Regions from separate parts of the Homo sapiens genome. Here region 2 is linked to region 1. The links are contacts of gene promoters, found by promoter capture Hi-C in human tissues and cell types (Jung and others, 2019). All regions are on one chromosome and are shown on one strand. The core of a region is centred on a gene start or on the middle of the fragment in contact, and the rest is flanking DNA. Distances in the headings are between cores, read along the strand shown. Region 1 holds the start of ARMC3 (armadillo repeat containing 3). Region 2 holds the start of LINC03027 (long intergenic non-protein coding RNA 3027).

Evidence for each region. Contacts are between HindIII fragments. The study calls those that stand out against the background at their distance.
Region 2: a contact is called between a fragment that was not itself captured here and the fragment with the promoter of ARMC3 in region 1, in 1 of the 25 tissues and cell types used here (small bowel).

The regions. Positions count from the first base shown.
Region 1 is chr10:22,924,569-22,932,139 of GRCh38, forward strand. It overlaps ARMC3 (armadillo repeat containing 3), which reads left to right and starts at 3,485. Exons shown (of 19, transcript NM_173081.5): 1 at 3,485-3,538; 2 at 7,428-7,476. The coding sequence starts at 7,429. The HindIII fragment of the contact is 8,735 bases long and covers 1-7,571 here.
Region 2 is chr10:22,430,466-22,438,036 of GRCh38, forward strand. LINC03027 (long intergenic non-protein coding RNA 3027) reads right to left here and starts at 7,464. Exons shown (of 1, transcript NR_036533.1): 1 at 4,960-7,464. LOC105376449 (a long non-coding RNA gene) reads left to right here and starts at 6,610. Exons shown (of 4, transcript XR_001747392.2): 1 at 6,610-6,686. RefSeq lists a silencer at 6,212-6,391 and enhancers at 6,862-6,911, 6,878-7,378, 7,212-7,371, 7,379-7,571. The HindIII fragment of the contact is 7,336 bases long and covers 1-6,997 here.

The DNA.
Region 1 (7,571 bases), core at 2,235-4,734:
TAAACATGATCTCCCGCCCAAATTTGACATACTCAGCAAAGACTAAGTCTATAAAACAAGAATTAAAGCAGTAGTTTTAATTATTTCATAAAAACACATCACAAGGGAACATCACACACTGGGGCCTGTCATGGGGTGGGGGGAGGGGAGAGGGATAGCATTAGGAGATATACGTAATGTAAATGACGAGTTAATGGGTGCAGCACACCAACATGGCACATGTATACAAATGTAACAAACCTGCACATTGTGCAGAACTTAAAGTATAATAAAATAAAATAAAATAAATCACAACTTGTTATAACACTATAATTTCAGGATGGGCTGGTATGATATATTGGTGCAGAACATGGATATAAAAGTCAAGCTGACCTTAGTTCAAGTCCTGTCTTTACCATTTACTAGTAGAGTGACCTTCTGCTAATCACCCTGTACTTCATTCAGACCTCACAGGATTACGGTGTGGATTTAATTGTGCACTTTAACCACTTCATAATTGCCAGTCTCATAGTGAGTATTAAAAAAGCTTTAGTTACTTGAAGAACATTTAGAAACAGCCTAGGTGGGGAGACATACATGTCAACAAATACATTACAGTATCATGTGAAAATAACAAATAGAGCAAGTGTAAGGTACAGCTATAGCAACGAATGAGAAATGCTTCCCTCTGTCTGAAGAAGCTAATAAAGACTTTTTGGAGGAAATGATGACTAAGTTAAAATTTGAAAGATGAATAAGTGGTTTTCAGGCTGATTAGGGGAGTGAAGGGCTCAAAATGTCATGGTGTACTTGGAGAATGCTGAGCAGTTTGCTATATTTTTGAACAATGACAGAAGCTATTGTAGTAGGAAGCAGTCAGTCAGAACAAGAAAGATCTTGAGTGTCAATTTAAGAATCTTGTTGCATTTCATCATTTGTGTGTTAGAGCTATTGGAGCCAGCAAGGACACAGACAAATTAAATTTGCATCTTAGAATGATTACTTTGATTGTCTTGGAGAAGATGAATTGAAGCTAGGATGAGTCTAGAGGATGGAAGACCTGCCAGAAGGCTTGTTAGATGAATTCAGGTAAAGGACAGTGACTTTCTGTACTTGGGCTATGGGAATTGGAAGGTGAGAATAAATTCAAGAAACTTTTAGGGGAATCCAATAATTAACTGCATGAAAAGGAGAATAAGTCTAGGATGCCTGTCAGACTTGGTGGTCTGTTTGGGTAGAACACCTGTTGGTACCCCTAGATAAATGGAAAAACATGTCTATACTGGGAAAATGATGAGTTTAGGTGGGTAGTGTTGATGACTGAAGTGCCTGTGGGTATCCAGGTGGAACTGTGTAGCAAGTAGGATATATGGGTCTAGAGTTCAGTACCGGAGTCTGATGAGGAGCTACATATGTGCAATAGTTGAAGTCACAAATATAAATAAGATCACCTAGAAAAGCATATAGTGTGAAAAGAGAACAAGGGACAGATCCCTGGGAAATTTCAACATTTAAGATTCTGTAAAAAAACCACAATAGGGCATATATCCCTATAAAATCCCAGCTACTCAGGAGGCTGAGTCAGGAGGATTCCTTGAGGCCAGGAATTCAAGACAAGCCTGGGCAACATAGATAGACCCTGTTGTATAGAAAAGATCTTAAATGATGGTCATAAAAGAAAGTAGGAGGAAGATCAAGAGCAAGTAGTACCAAGGAAACCAAGAAAAGAGTTTCAAGAATGAGGTGTCATTGAGTATTATATACAGCAGCAATGTCAAGCAAGATGAGGGCTAAGAAGCATCCAATGGATATGGATAGTTTTAGTGCTGGGATGAAAACAGGTCACTATAGTCTGAAGAGTGAATAGGAAGTTAAAAATATGTAAGTATCTAATGCTGGCTACTTTTTTTGAAAAGTCATGACCAAGAAGAGAAAGAAAACAATAGGATAATAGTTAGAAGGAACAACAACATCAAAGGGATTTTATTTGTTTTTGCTTTTTAGATGAGGCATGGGAGGGGCTTCAACATAATTATATACCAACAGGAAAAAACGTGGAAGACAGGGAGAGGCTGAAAATACAGGTGTATATTATTCAAGGTCCAATCATATAACACTTGATGACGCTTATATTCTTGAAACTCCCTCCTTAGTTTCCTTGATGCTACTTGGTCTTAATCCTTTTCCTACTTTCATGACCATTACTTAAGATCTTTTCTATACAGAAGTCACACCGGATATTTGACCATGGAAAACTGAATACAAATAATTGTTATAAAGCTGTTTATCAGGCAATTTAAATGGTGAGAAGAGAACATAAGATATATAAAAGTAGCAATTATAAGAAGCATCTATCATTCTTAGGACTGGGAGACCAACAGGGGCCGGTAGGAGACGGAATTTGCAAAGTCTAAGAGGAGAGGGAGAGACTTTTTGCTAAAGGCAATCAAAAAATATTTTATGAAGATGGCATTTGAGCTGGGCTTAATTAAGTGGAAATGAGAGAATATTTCAGGTATTGCACATGACCTGGGAAATAGAAGCTACTTTATAAATATTTGTTGAAAAATGAAGTGATGAACAGATAAGCAAGAAAATCTAGAGAAAAGTGTGGAAAATTTCGGGAACAGTAAGTTTGGCTGGAGCTTGGATGGTGGAGATCGGTTGAAAATGTGGTTGCACAGATGGAGTAGAGATGGAGCAGACGGTCTTAAATTCCAGGCCAATGTGTTGAAAATTTATCTTAGGAAGCCGCTGACATTTGAGTAGGGAAGTGACAAGACTGGAACGATGATTTCTGGATGGCCGATTTGCCTGTGATACGTAGAAAGAACTGTAAGCAGAGAGCAACTGAATTTCTCAGCCAGAAGGCCAAAAAATGACGAGCTGGATTGAAGTGACAATAAGGATATGAGAAAGGGAACAAGCAGGAAACAAAATGTAAGCCGCCAAGAAGTGGCTGAAGTGATGACTGTGGTTGGGGGGCATGGGAGGAAGAAGGGAAATTGAAGCTCCTTCTGAGTCTAGGCAATTGGAAGAATGGCAGGAAGAGGAAAGAAAGAGGAAGAGAACGGGGCTTTGAAGGGCCATGAGAAGTTCTGTGGAAACGGATTGGACATCCTAGTGCAAAGAGATGTGGCAGTGCAGGTCTGCAGCTTAACGGAGCCTGGGCAGGAGGTGGCTGATGTGGGTTTCATCTGCATAGAGATTCCGGCTGACGCCTCTATTTGGAAGAATGCAATAGTATTTGCGTATTTGAACCCACAGCCAGTCCTTGGGCCAGAAACTGAGGCTGAACTGCCTCTTGATTTACAGCTTCCACCCCCAGTTTCCATTCTCCCCTAAAGCACTGGATTCAGGTAATCGCGGACGCACTTGGCTCCTCCCGCACTGGCCGCTGCCCTCGGCGGGACAATGGGCGCCCTAGCAGCCCCGAGCGTTCCCAGGGCGCAGGCGCGGCGCGGCGTGGCGTCGCCTAGCAACGAGGCACAACAAGGGACTGGGGGTTCGTCTGCTGGGTTTGCGGAGCAGCTAGCTACTCGGCGGGATCTCCCGGCAGGTAAAGGTAACCCCGTGGGGTGGGGAGGCCCAAGGCAGAGGCCTGAGGAAAACCTGGGAAAGGAGAAGGTGCCACGTGGGCGCAGACTGCTTGGGTCAGTGAGGCAACACCTTGCTGGGCGTTGTTAGTTTCTGCCTCGCGCCCGCAGGGTTAGACGGGGCTTGGGGTGGGTTTCGTAAGCATCCCGCCACCTCCCATTCAACAGGTGACAAAACTGAGGCCCGAGAGGGGATCTGAGGTGAGATCAAGTCAGATTCCGTTACTTGACTGTGAGCAACTCAGAAGTGGCCTCGATTTCTTGAGCCCTCCTCCTCTTTAAATCTTCTCAAAGCAGAACTCATTAGAAAATATTTAAAATCATAGGCTGAACGTTCACGAAGAACAAATACAAAGGACCAATCAACTCGTGAAAAAAAAAATGGCTCCAGTAGTCAAGAAGATGCATTTTTAGAGCAGAGTTGTTTGCATATCCAATGCCCTGAAGTTTTCACCCAGTTAATTTACTGCTAGAGATTTATCCTAAAGAAATAGTTGGGGATAATGGATGAAAATTTTATGTCCAAGGACGTTCTTTCAGCCCTGTCCATATTTCCAGAAAATTAGAAACAAATTTCAACAATCAGAGACTGGCTAGATAGCTAAGGGATTTTAAAATATTTGTAATGGCATGTTATGCTAATCCACTGGAGATTATTAAAGCAATGAAGGGAAACTGAGACTTCATGAATTTATTTGTTAATATAAGAATTTAGTAGGAATATGAACCCAGGAAGGGAAGGTGAAAGTAGGGGATAGAAGTTGAGGCAGGATGTTAAAATCACTTTAGAAAAACACACAAAGCCAGGTACGGTGGCTCACGCCTACAACCCCAGCACTTTGGGAGGCTGAGGCGGGTGGATCGCCTGAAGTCAGGAGTTCGAGACCAACCTGGTCAATGTGGGGAAACCTGTCTCTACTGAAAATACAAAAATTAGCCGAGCGTGGTGGCGGGTACCTGTAATCCCAGCTACTCAGGAGGCTGAGGCAGGAGAATCTCTTAAACCTGGGAGGTGGAGGTTGCAATGAGCCAAGATCAGGCCACTCTCCAGCCTGGGCAACAGAGTGAGACTCTGTCTCAAAAAAGAAAAAGAAAAAGAAAAAAAGAGAAGAGAGAGAGAGAGGGAGAGAGAGAGAGAGAAAGAGAGAGAGAAAGAGAAAGAAAAAGAAAAAGAAAGGAAAGGAAAGGAAAGGAAAGGAAAAGAAAAGAAATAGTATTGATCTCTCTGAGCTTATCTTTGGGTGATTTTTATTTTATTCGTTGTGCCCTTGTTTTCCAAATTCTCCACAGTGAAATGTATTACCCTTGTAAGGATCATCTCCATAGCTCATTGCCACCGACCTATGTCAGCTGTTCAGTCTCTCCTCCATTAACTATCATACCCAATATGGTGATAAAACACATAGGCTTTTTTTGGGGGAGGAGACAGAGTCTCGCTCTGTCACCCAGGCTGGAGTGCAATGGGGTGATCTCAGCTTATTGCAACCTCCGCCTCCCGGCCTCAAGCAATTCTCCTGCCTCAGCCTCCCCAGTAGCTGGGAATGCAGGCACATGCCACCGCCACTCCAGGCTAATTTTTGTATTTTTAGTAGAGACAGAGTTTTGCCATGTTGTCCAGGCTGGTCTTGAGCTCCTGACCTCAGGTGATCCACCCGCCTCAGCCTCCCAAAGTGCTGGGATTACAGGAGTGAGCCACCACGCCGGGCCATGATAAAACACATAGGCTTTTAACTTCATTCTTTAGCTTAGGAGACACTCTATCATTGCAATACTGTCTGTGTAAGCTCTTCTAACCTCTGCACTATGCAATTGCTCAAAAACACTATCCTGAAGTAGGAAAAATTAGTTCCTAAGTGAAAATCAGATGATTTAAAACAACTTTATGCAGGTGTAATTAAATTGCTTCCTGAATATTATTCATAAGCAATTATTTTATAAATCAAAGGCTGCTCTGTCTTGGAATTGGTTATAGAGTGCTATAAACTCTCTCTTTTTTTTTTCCTAGAGATTAATTGTAGGATAGATTCTCATTTGCCCAGAATAGTTTCTGCCTCTCTGCCTGAAATATTATAGGCACAAGGTCTAGGGCCTGTTCACTTTTCAAGCACCTAAGGAAGATGTTTGAGATTTGAAAAAAATGCTTATATTGGCTCTAAAATATGAAAAGAGAACTGAAAAATTAGTGTTAATTAAATGTTTTATTAATATAAATTTTTATTACATTTGAAAACAATTTTCTCATTTTACAAGAATTTCCAGGTGTATGTACTGATTGCTGAGTAATTTCAAATACAAATTTCAAAAGTTTTTATGATGCAAATGACATTTAATGGGCGATGCAGGCACATTTTAACATTTTAATATATTGGCTATTGTGTGAATAAGCTTGCCCAGGCCCTCCAAAGTCTTAAAAGTAGTGTGGTCTGAAGTTAGAGACCTAGAATAAATGCCTTTCAGAAGTATCTAGGAGTTTCTATGAAGACGTGGCTTTTTAATGTATGTGATAAATTCTGGTCAGTGTCTCTAATGCTAGGAGTTGCTTTTGACCCTTGACATGCAATTTGAGCTAACCCTGACACTGTAGATTCTCCCCAAGGATTTTCTACTTCCTAGGATTTCTACTGAGACTATGGTAATTTCCTTAAGGCTATGATATACCGTTTAAGATTGCTCCTACGATATACCGTTTAAGATGGCCCTGATGTCAAACATAATTCCACAAACTCTCACTGAAGAAAACTAGATAGATTTCCTGGGTTATTCTAATAGACATTAACATCTTGAAAAGTTTCTTTTTTTTTTTTGAGACAGTCTCACTCTGTTGCCCAGGCTGGAATGCAGTGGTGCGATCTCGGCTCACTGCAGCCTCCGCCTCCCGGGTTCAAGTGATTCTTGTGCCTCAGCCTCCTGAGTAGCTGGGACTACAAGGCACGTGCCACCACACCCGGCTAATTTTTGTATTTTTAGTAGAGACAGGATTTCACTGTGTTGGCCAGGATGGTCTTGAACTCCTGACCTCGTGATTCGCCCACCTCGGCCTCCCAAAGAGCTGGGATTACAGGCGTGAGCCACCTGCCCGGCCTGAAAAGTTCTTTGAACCCAGGCTGGTTACTCCTCTGTGGTATGTTAACTATGTATAAATTCCATTCCTTTCACTTTTTCCACACAGACATGGACATATGAGGACAAGTGGAAAGGAAGTAACCTCAGTTTCCCCAGAATATATCTCTTCAGATTTTTTAATTGCTTTTTTACTAAGCTGTGGATTATGAAAGAAAACTTTTTGTTATCCGGGCAAAGGACACAAATGTTGATTCAAGACCTGGTAGATTTTGTATACCATTTATGAGATCATTACTCCTAGGAAAAATGGAGTTAATGAGGTTTATAAATATCAAATGCCAATTATGTACCAGACACTGTTGTAGGTATTTAGGATAGATCAGTGCAAGAAAATAGACAAAAACCTCTGCCTTTGTGGCACAAACATTCTTGCAGGTCTCAAAAGTAACTTGGTGGGCTTAGTCTCTTAAGCCCATCATAAGCAAGCTATAAAAATGGTAAATGATTTCTTGTTATTTAAGTTATGCCACTAATATATTCACCTCCTTTCTAAACTGAAAGCCAGGACTAACACTCAATGATCTTATCAATAAGTTCCTTAAAATTGCAGAGTTTGAAATTGGGATGTAGGTGACATATTTGTACATATGTGATAATTTTTACATGTATTGCATTGTGTTTTAGGAGGTAAAAATTTAAAGGAGAAAATAAACCTCCTCTCAAGGGCACAGGTAATTGAGAAATGTATGTGCAAATGTCACTTTAACCATATATTGCATCTTTTTCCAGGATGGGTAAAAAGATAAAGAAGGAAGTAGAGCCTCCTCCTAAGGATGTGGTAAGTTTCTGATTTGAATACTAGTAGCACTTTAACAACCAGTTATAAAAATAAATTGTTCACACAGTTTGGCATGTACCAGTATATACATGAAT
Region 2 (7,571 bases), core at 2,080-4,579, 490 kb before region 1:
AAAGCCACAAAAATACCTCCTTCCTAATCTGGAAAATGGGAATAGTAAGAGTATCTACCCCTGGGGTTGTAATGAGATCAACTGAACTTCTTCCAAAGGATATAAGGAGTATAATATTCTAGGAAGCTTTTGAAAAATAAACTGGAGAAGAAAGCATTTCCAGATGTTACCTTGAACACAGGAAATGAGGTGAGAAGAAACAAAACAAAACATACAATAAAAACCTAACATTCTAAAAATTCAGTAAGTTAGTGATTCTTCCAAATGAGCTCTCCTCTCAAAGTGGTTCTCTGAATTTAAGCTCAATGATGCTGTTGTTGCCCAAAAGGTTTTGGGATTTCTTCTTTCAAAAGGGTTGTTAAGGACCTGTATGTAAATACTAACTCTTCCACTTTATGATAGTCATGACAAATATCTTTCTACTTCACAACTTCTAATTTGATATTGTTATAATTTTTGGTATACAGATGCTTTAAATGATTATTGCAGATAAATCTATGAGTTCTTCCATTGTTTTGTGGTTAGTTCTTTCCCATCCCAAAATCACTTAGCTATCCATTTAGATTTTTTTTTTAACTTCTTTTATAGTTCAGTTTTCACATTTATCTTTTTATCTGGAAAGTATTTCAGTAGACTGCATGAAATGAACATGTAATCTGATTTTTTTTTCCCAAATGGTTGGCCAGTTTTCCTAGTGCCAGTTATTGAATAATCCATGTCTTCTCCATTAGTGATGCTTCATTTATTGGAATATTGAGTTTTCTTTCAGGGCTATCTGTTCTGAAATATTTGTCAATCTTTCCTCAGTAGTTCAATATTATTGTAATTATTATGGCTTTATAATATGTATTAACATCTGGTAGAGTAAATCTCATGTTATTATTCTTTCTTTTCAAAGTATTCTGGCTACTCTGTTTTTTCCTCCAGATGGAAATACATTTTTTCAACTTCTAAAAATGTCCCGTTGGAATTTTAGTTACAATTGCAAATTAAGGGATAGATATCTTTGTCTAGGAGCATAATATATTTCTCAATCTATTCAAATACTTTTGCTTTCATTTTTTTCTCTTTTTCTTTGTATAAATCCCTTTCAGTTCTTGCCAATATTATTTATATGTCAATAGAATCTTTTTAAGACATATATTTGTTCCCAGGTTCCAACACCCCAAAAAAGTTATATTTCCCAATAGGTTATTGCTAGATCAGTAGAAAGTTATTGATTTTAATAATTATTTTATAATAGATTTTCAATCAAGTTTCTTAAGTTTTCTAGGCAAAAAGTATCTGCAAATGCAATTTTTCTACTGCTTTGCAATATTTTCCTTAGTATTTCTGTTTCTTGTCTTATTACAGAATGACTTCAGCATAATTTTAAATAATAGTGGTGAAAGCAGGCATATTTATACCTGCTTTTAATGAAAATGCCTGTCTGTCATTGAGTATGGAAATTTAAAAATATACACAGAAGTAAATGAAAGCCTAATGTGCCTCTCACCTAGCCTCAACAATTATCAACATTTTTGAACACACTTTTAGTGGAATTATAAATTAATGCAGTCTTTTGAATATTAATTTGGAAATAGCTATCCAAATATTGATCTGCAATTCTATTGCTAGGCATTAATCCAACAAGTACACCTGCATCAATGGGCAAAGACATTCAAGGATGCTCTAAATGTATGTAATTGCAGAAAACAAGAAAATAGTCTAAATGGTCCCTAATAGGTGAGTGAAAAATCACGGTTCATTCATATAACTGTACTTAACCACTACGAAAAATTTTGGTAGGTCTATATGTGCTGATGTGGGAAGATGTACAAAGTACTTTATGAAATTAAAAAATAAAAAGCAGGCCAGGTGCAGTGGCTCACACCTGTAATCCCAGCATTTTGGGAGGCCGAGGCGGGTGGATCACCTGAGGTCAGGAGTTCAAGACCAGCCTGGCCAACATGGCGGAACCCCCTCTCTACTAAAAATACAAAAATTAGCTGGGCATGGTGGCGTGCACCTGTAATCCCAGCTACTCAGGAGGCCTTCAGAGAGAAGGTGTAAAGTTAATTTGGCTGTCTTACCAGTACCATTATTATTTTTATAAAATCTTATTAAAAGATACGATGTTGGCTATCAGTTTAACATTTACTAAAAGTTTTTAAAAAATATAGTTGTTTTAATTGGGAATAGGTGCTAGATTTTTATCACTTATCGAGATAATAAGGTTTTTATTCTTATATAATCTAAATGTATTTTTATATAAACTATTTTCCTGGTATTGAAATATCCTGGCATTTCTAGGATAAAATCTACCTGATTGTTTAAAATGACTGACTTTATTGAATTTAATTTGCTGGCATTTTTGGTATTTTGGGGGGAATTCTGGCATTGAGTTTCTTATGTGAACTTTTATTTTTTGAGTGCCCTTTCTTTTTCTTTTTTTTGAGACGGGGTCTTGCTCTGTTACCCAGGCTGGAGTACAGTGATGAGATCATGGCTCACTGCAGCCTTGACCTATCAAGCTCATATGATCCTCCCACTTCATCTTTCCGAGTAGTTAGGACTGCAGGAGCCTACCACCAGCCAGGCCCAGATAATTTTTTACTCTTTGTATAGATAGGGTCTCTTGGAACTCCTGGGCTCAAGCGATCTTCCCCCCTTAGTTTCCCAAAGTGCTGGGATTACAGGTGTGAGCCATCATGCTTGGCGTATACCATTTTTGATAGGTTTTATAATAAAAGTGGTTTCACTCACAAAAAACTTAAATTTTAGTGTCTTTATTCATTTAGAAAGGGGATTTTATGTCTTTCAAAATTTGCAAGAATTTGCCTAAAGCCTCTCTTGGTCTTTAGGCGTTTTAAAATTTCTCCCCTAGCTTTGATCTACTTAGTTTTTCTACTCCTAGATTCAATTTGGGTGATTTATGGTTTTCCAGAAAAAAATGTTTAGCACATAGCTAATTTCACATAGCAGTCTCATATAATTTATAAAAAGTCTCCATGGCAGATCAGGAGGTCAGAAGATCAGGATCATCCTGGCTAACGCAGTGAAACCCCGCCTCTACTAAAAAATACAAAAAATTAGCCGGGTGTGGTGGCGGGCGCCTATAGTCCCAGCTACTTGGGAGGCTGAGGCAGGAGAATGGCGTGAACCTGGGAGGTGGAGCTTGTAGTGAGCTGAGATTGCACCACTGCACTCCAGCCTGGGCAACAGAGCAAGATTGTCTCAAAAAAAAAAAAAAAGTATCCATATCTGTTATATCTCCTTTCTCCTTTATATTTTCTTTTCTTTTTTTTTTTTTTAAATAGATTCATCAGCGATTTCTCCATTTTCTTGATCTTTTTCCAAAGAATTACCTTTGGAGTTGATCAAAAACATTGTTTCTAATCATTAATTTCTGCTCCAAAGTTTCCCTAATCCTCCATTTCTTGGAGTTTAATTTTTAAAAAACCATTAATCAGTTCACTTATTTTTACTCTTTCTAGTTCAATTTTTCCCTGCCAAATGATGTTACTAAACTCAGTGTGGTTTCAAATGACTTGAGTATTTCTAAAAATCTGCTCTCCGAGGAGGAAGATTTGCTATCACTGATGATGTCATTTAAAAGAATGTGACTCAGACTCTTGTGGCAAATTTCTAAAGAATTCTAAAAATGTTTGAGTAATGGGAACACAATTGCAGCAAGCTTATGACCTACTCTGAAGGAGCCAATTTGTAAAACCTGCACGTTTGCTGAACATTATCTGCCCTTATATATTTAGAAATAATCAAGTGCTAGGAATTAAAGAGGAGCTCTCACTTTTGTTTATTGGGATGCCTTCTGATACTGCATGTCTATGACCCAAGATATTCTTAATATTTTTCTTTTTGTGAAAATGTATTTAAACACATCATGTGTACAGCCTGGCTTCATTTTTGCTCCCAACAGAAATTAATCTCAGATGAAACATTTTTCAAAAAAAGATTAAAAACTGTTCACATGCTAGGATGACCAAGTTTTCCTTGCAAAAACCAATTCACTATGATGATGTGGATGAAGGCAGAATGTGTTATTAAAAATAATTAAGTGCTCTGATAGGCCACAATTATAAGCGATAAAAATATTCTCTAATAAAATGTATTGTGCCAATAGAAAGGTAGATTGCAGGTGTGACCTTTGGCAAGGTATGTAGTAGAACTTATTAGAGCCATGTGTTTGTAGATTATGTAACAGTTTTTAAGTGGTCAGGAAGGGGAGGATTTTGTGGTCAGAAAAGTGGAACTGCCCTATTTAACATATGACCCTGGCCATTCCCATCCCAAATTACTGTTGATCAAGTTACAGATAGTTGGGAAGCCCAGGTGAAAGGGAAGCCTAGAATAAGGCCCGACAAAATTGCAATAAACAGTAGGCCACAAAGCCAGTGGCCATTATCATTAAAAACACTTACTGAAGTATTTAATATAGAAAATAATGTCAAGAAAAATTGTTTTGCAAAGCACTATGAACCAGAAATCACTTAAAAAGGCTTTAACATATCCTCCCCTGATGTCTTTAGGAAAGCTAGAACATGACCAAAAACATAAGTAGACCTCCCCAGACTAACAGCTTTATGATCATTATTTGAAAGCATTTTGTTTTGCATTTGCATGCATCTCAGGTTTAAGTTTCCAAATTTTTAAAGCATTTAAGTGCTAATGCTCTAGGAATTTACTCTTGAGAATAAACACCACTAGGAACCAATAAATGGAAGCCCAAACTTTTACTGTCTCTAGCAACTTCAAACAGGGGCATACCTATAAAAATTTATATATTCAGCATTGGTCTCAATTGGGTTGCCTTTTACAGAAGCACTTTAATGGGACAGTAAACCAGAGCCCAGAGGAAACAAAAATCCTAATTTTGTGTTGTGGTTGCCAAATTTTCAGAAAAGCACAGATCTAAAGCCCAAAGGCTGCTAAATTGATTCACATGAACAGAGCCTGAGGCCAAGTTTAAGTGCGAAGATTTTATTAGGCGGTACAATTCCAAGGTGGTAAGGGTGAAAGGAAAGGCGAAGGCAGGCAAATACATTATTGAGCTGAAAACAACTTTACATTCAAGGACAGCTTCCAGACAAGCCATGTAGAACCAGCATGCCTTGGGACTGTGTGGATGGCAGGGAGACGAGTTTCTATGCTGACCACTTCATGCTTTCTGCCCCCTTTGGGGAAAGTATGCCTCACGGACCTCTAACTCTCCCACTTCTCTGGGGGCAGCACCTGACCCCTCCCGGCAACTGCTAGGCAAGAGCATTCTGTTCCTTCAAATTTCTCACCTGAGTCTGAGTCAGAGCATCCCATCATCAGAGCCTCTGTCAGGGAGGCAGTGCTGAAGCATGACCTTCACCTGGGGGAGGCTGTCGGGAGATGGCACTGGAGGCCAGGCCTCTACCCTAAGCGAGAGGTGCAGGCCGGGGTGGAGGTGGACGGTGGGACAGAGTAAATCCGGGGAAGCACATCAACCGGGTCTGGTAGGGCATAGCCTTCTTGGACCTGAGCCATTCCTACTGCTGATGTCCACTGCTTCTCAATCGAGAAACAGCACGGATTCAGCTCTCAGATTTTGTAAACTGTGATTTTCTCCCTTATTCCTCAACAACCACCTAGCCACGACCTTCTTTAACTCTTCCCCCAACCCCGAAACTTTTGAGGAAATGACTTTTCTTATAATTTGAATGTTAATAAACCGTACCCATTTAGAAACTACAGTTTGATGATTTGGGGCGACTGTATACGTCATGTTGCCGCCGCTCCTATTAAGATATGAAATTGTCCCACCACTGCCCCAAAGTTCCCCCGCTCCTGTGCATTCCATTCTGTCCTGTTCCACTCCTTTCCCAGGCAACTGCTTTGCATCGCCACTGTTGCTTCTTCTAGAATGTCCTATAAATGGACATCAGACCGACTATGGCTTTTTGGGTTCTTCCCCCCACAGCATCGTGTTTTTCAGCTCCACCCACGTGGTTTTGGGTATTAATCCTATGGTAGAACTAGCTAGATGCTGGAGAACTCATTATGCGCCGGTAGGTAATTTTAACCTGCATCGTCTCATCTCTATTCTGTCACAATAGAGGAAACTGAGGCACGCCCGGCGTGTGGGCGTGTGAGGGGGCACCGGGCCGACTTCCGCCCGTCAGTAGGCCTGGACCTGCTGGCACCCGCTGTCAAGATAGGGCCTGGCGTCGCGGCGAGGCATCAGCTCGGGCAGAAGCACAGCCCAGGAAGTGGGCGCGTCGCAAGCTCCACACCCAACCAAACCCGGGCAGAGGGCTCGGTGGGCGCGAGGCCGAGGGCCCAAGAGGCCGGGGCCGCTACCCCCTCGCCCCTGGGACGGCCTCCGGGTCTCCTTGCTCCAGCAGACAGGCCCGCGGCGGCTACTCCGAGGCGCAGGGGCAAGGCCGCAGCGGGCAGCGGAGGCCGAAACAGAGAACACACACAACGCGGACCGACAGCAGTCACCGCAGGGGTCGCCGGGGCGCGGCTCTATAAAGCCTCGGCTCTATAAAGCCGCGCTAAGCCGCATCGCGCTGCACGTTTCCTTCCGCGCGGGGCCGGCGCTACTTCCCGCCTTACCAGGCCGCCGTGCCGGGAGGAGCTGAGACGTCTGCAAGGCCGCAACATCTCGCAGCAGCTTTTCGCCTGCTTCCTCCGCTCGCTCTAGAGGGCACAGCAAGGTGCGGGGCTCAACCTGCCGCTTCCCCAAGACGGAGGTGGCCGCCACGCTCCCGCCCGCTGTAAACGTCCGAGCGGGAAGAGCGGCCTCTGGTTTCTGTGGTATCGGCTTCTGGTTTCTGTGGTATCCGGAGACTTCGTTTCCCGGCGCGAGGGAAACAAAGATGCTGGCGTGGAGCGGCCTGCCCGCCGCTATTGTCTGGCTGCCTGACAGGGAGCGGCCGCTTTCGCTTTCTTCTGCCGAATGGAACGTGGTGACTCGGGAGCCGCGGAGCGCCTTTCGAGGCAGCTTTGTCTGCGGAAAGGGAGCGCTGCGGACGGCCTGTCGGAATGGTCACCGCCCGCTTTCCGCGGGAGGCGCGCCGGGCACCGCTGGGCGATTTCTCCGCCTCAGCGAAAGAAAGGAGAAGCCGGCATTTGTGGCCGCCCAGTCTTCGTTCCGATTTGAGCCCTGGCGTCGGCGGGAGGTGACAGTGCTGTCCGCGCGCACCCCCTCCGTCGCCGTCAGGGTCGTGCTCCTTAGGTTTCCTGCGGTTTTTCTGCTGCTCTGAGACGGTCTCTGGGACCAAGTTCTCACAGCATCGTCTTCTCCTCTCGCAAATAATCTTTTTATGATGTTTGTTCTGCTGAATCCACCGGACGCCTCAGACACGGGCCCTGACGGCATCGCCGGCCTGGGGGAGGCGTGGAGAGAGGGGAGGAAGGCGGGAGGGCTGTGGGGCTGCTAGCTGATTTGGGGATCCCATCATCTTCGAATTTTTATGCAGAGCCCATGGAAGCGCCTGGTCAGAGAAGCGGGAGGAAACCGAACCTAAGAAAGGGGCTTGGAGTCAGCAGTGAAGAATCTATTGTTTATTTTAGTTTTGTTTTTAGATTCAGGAGGTAGA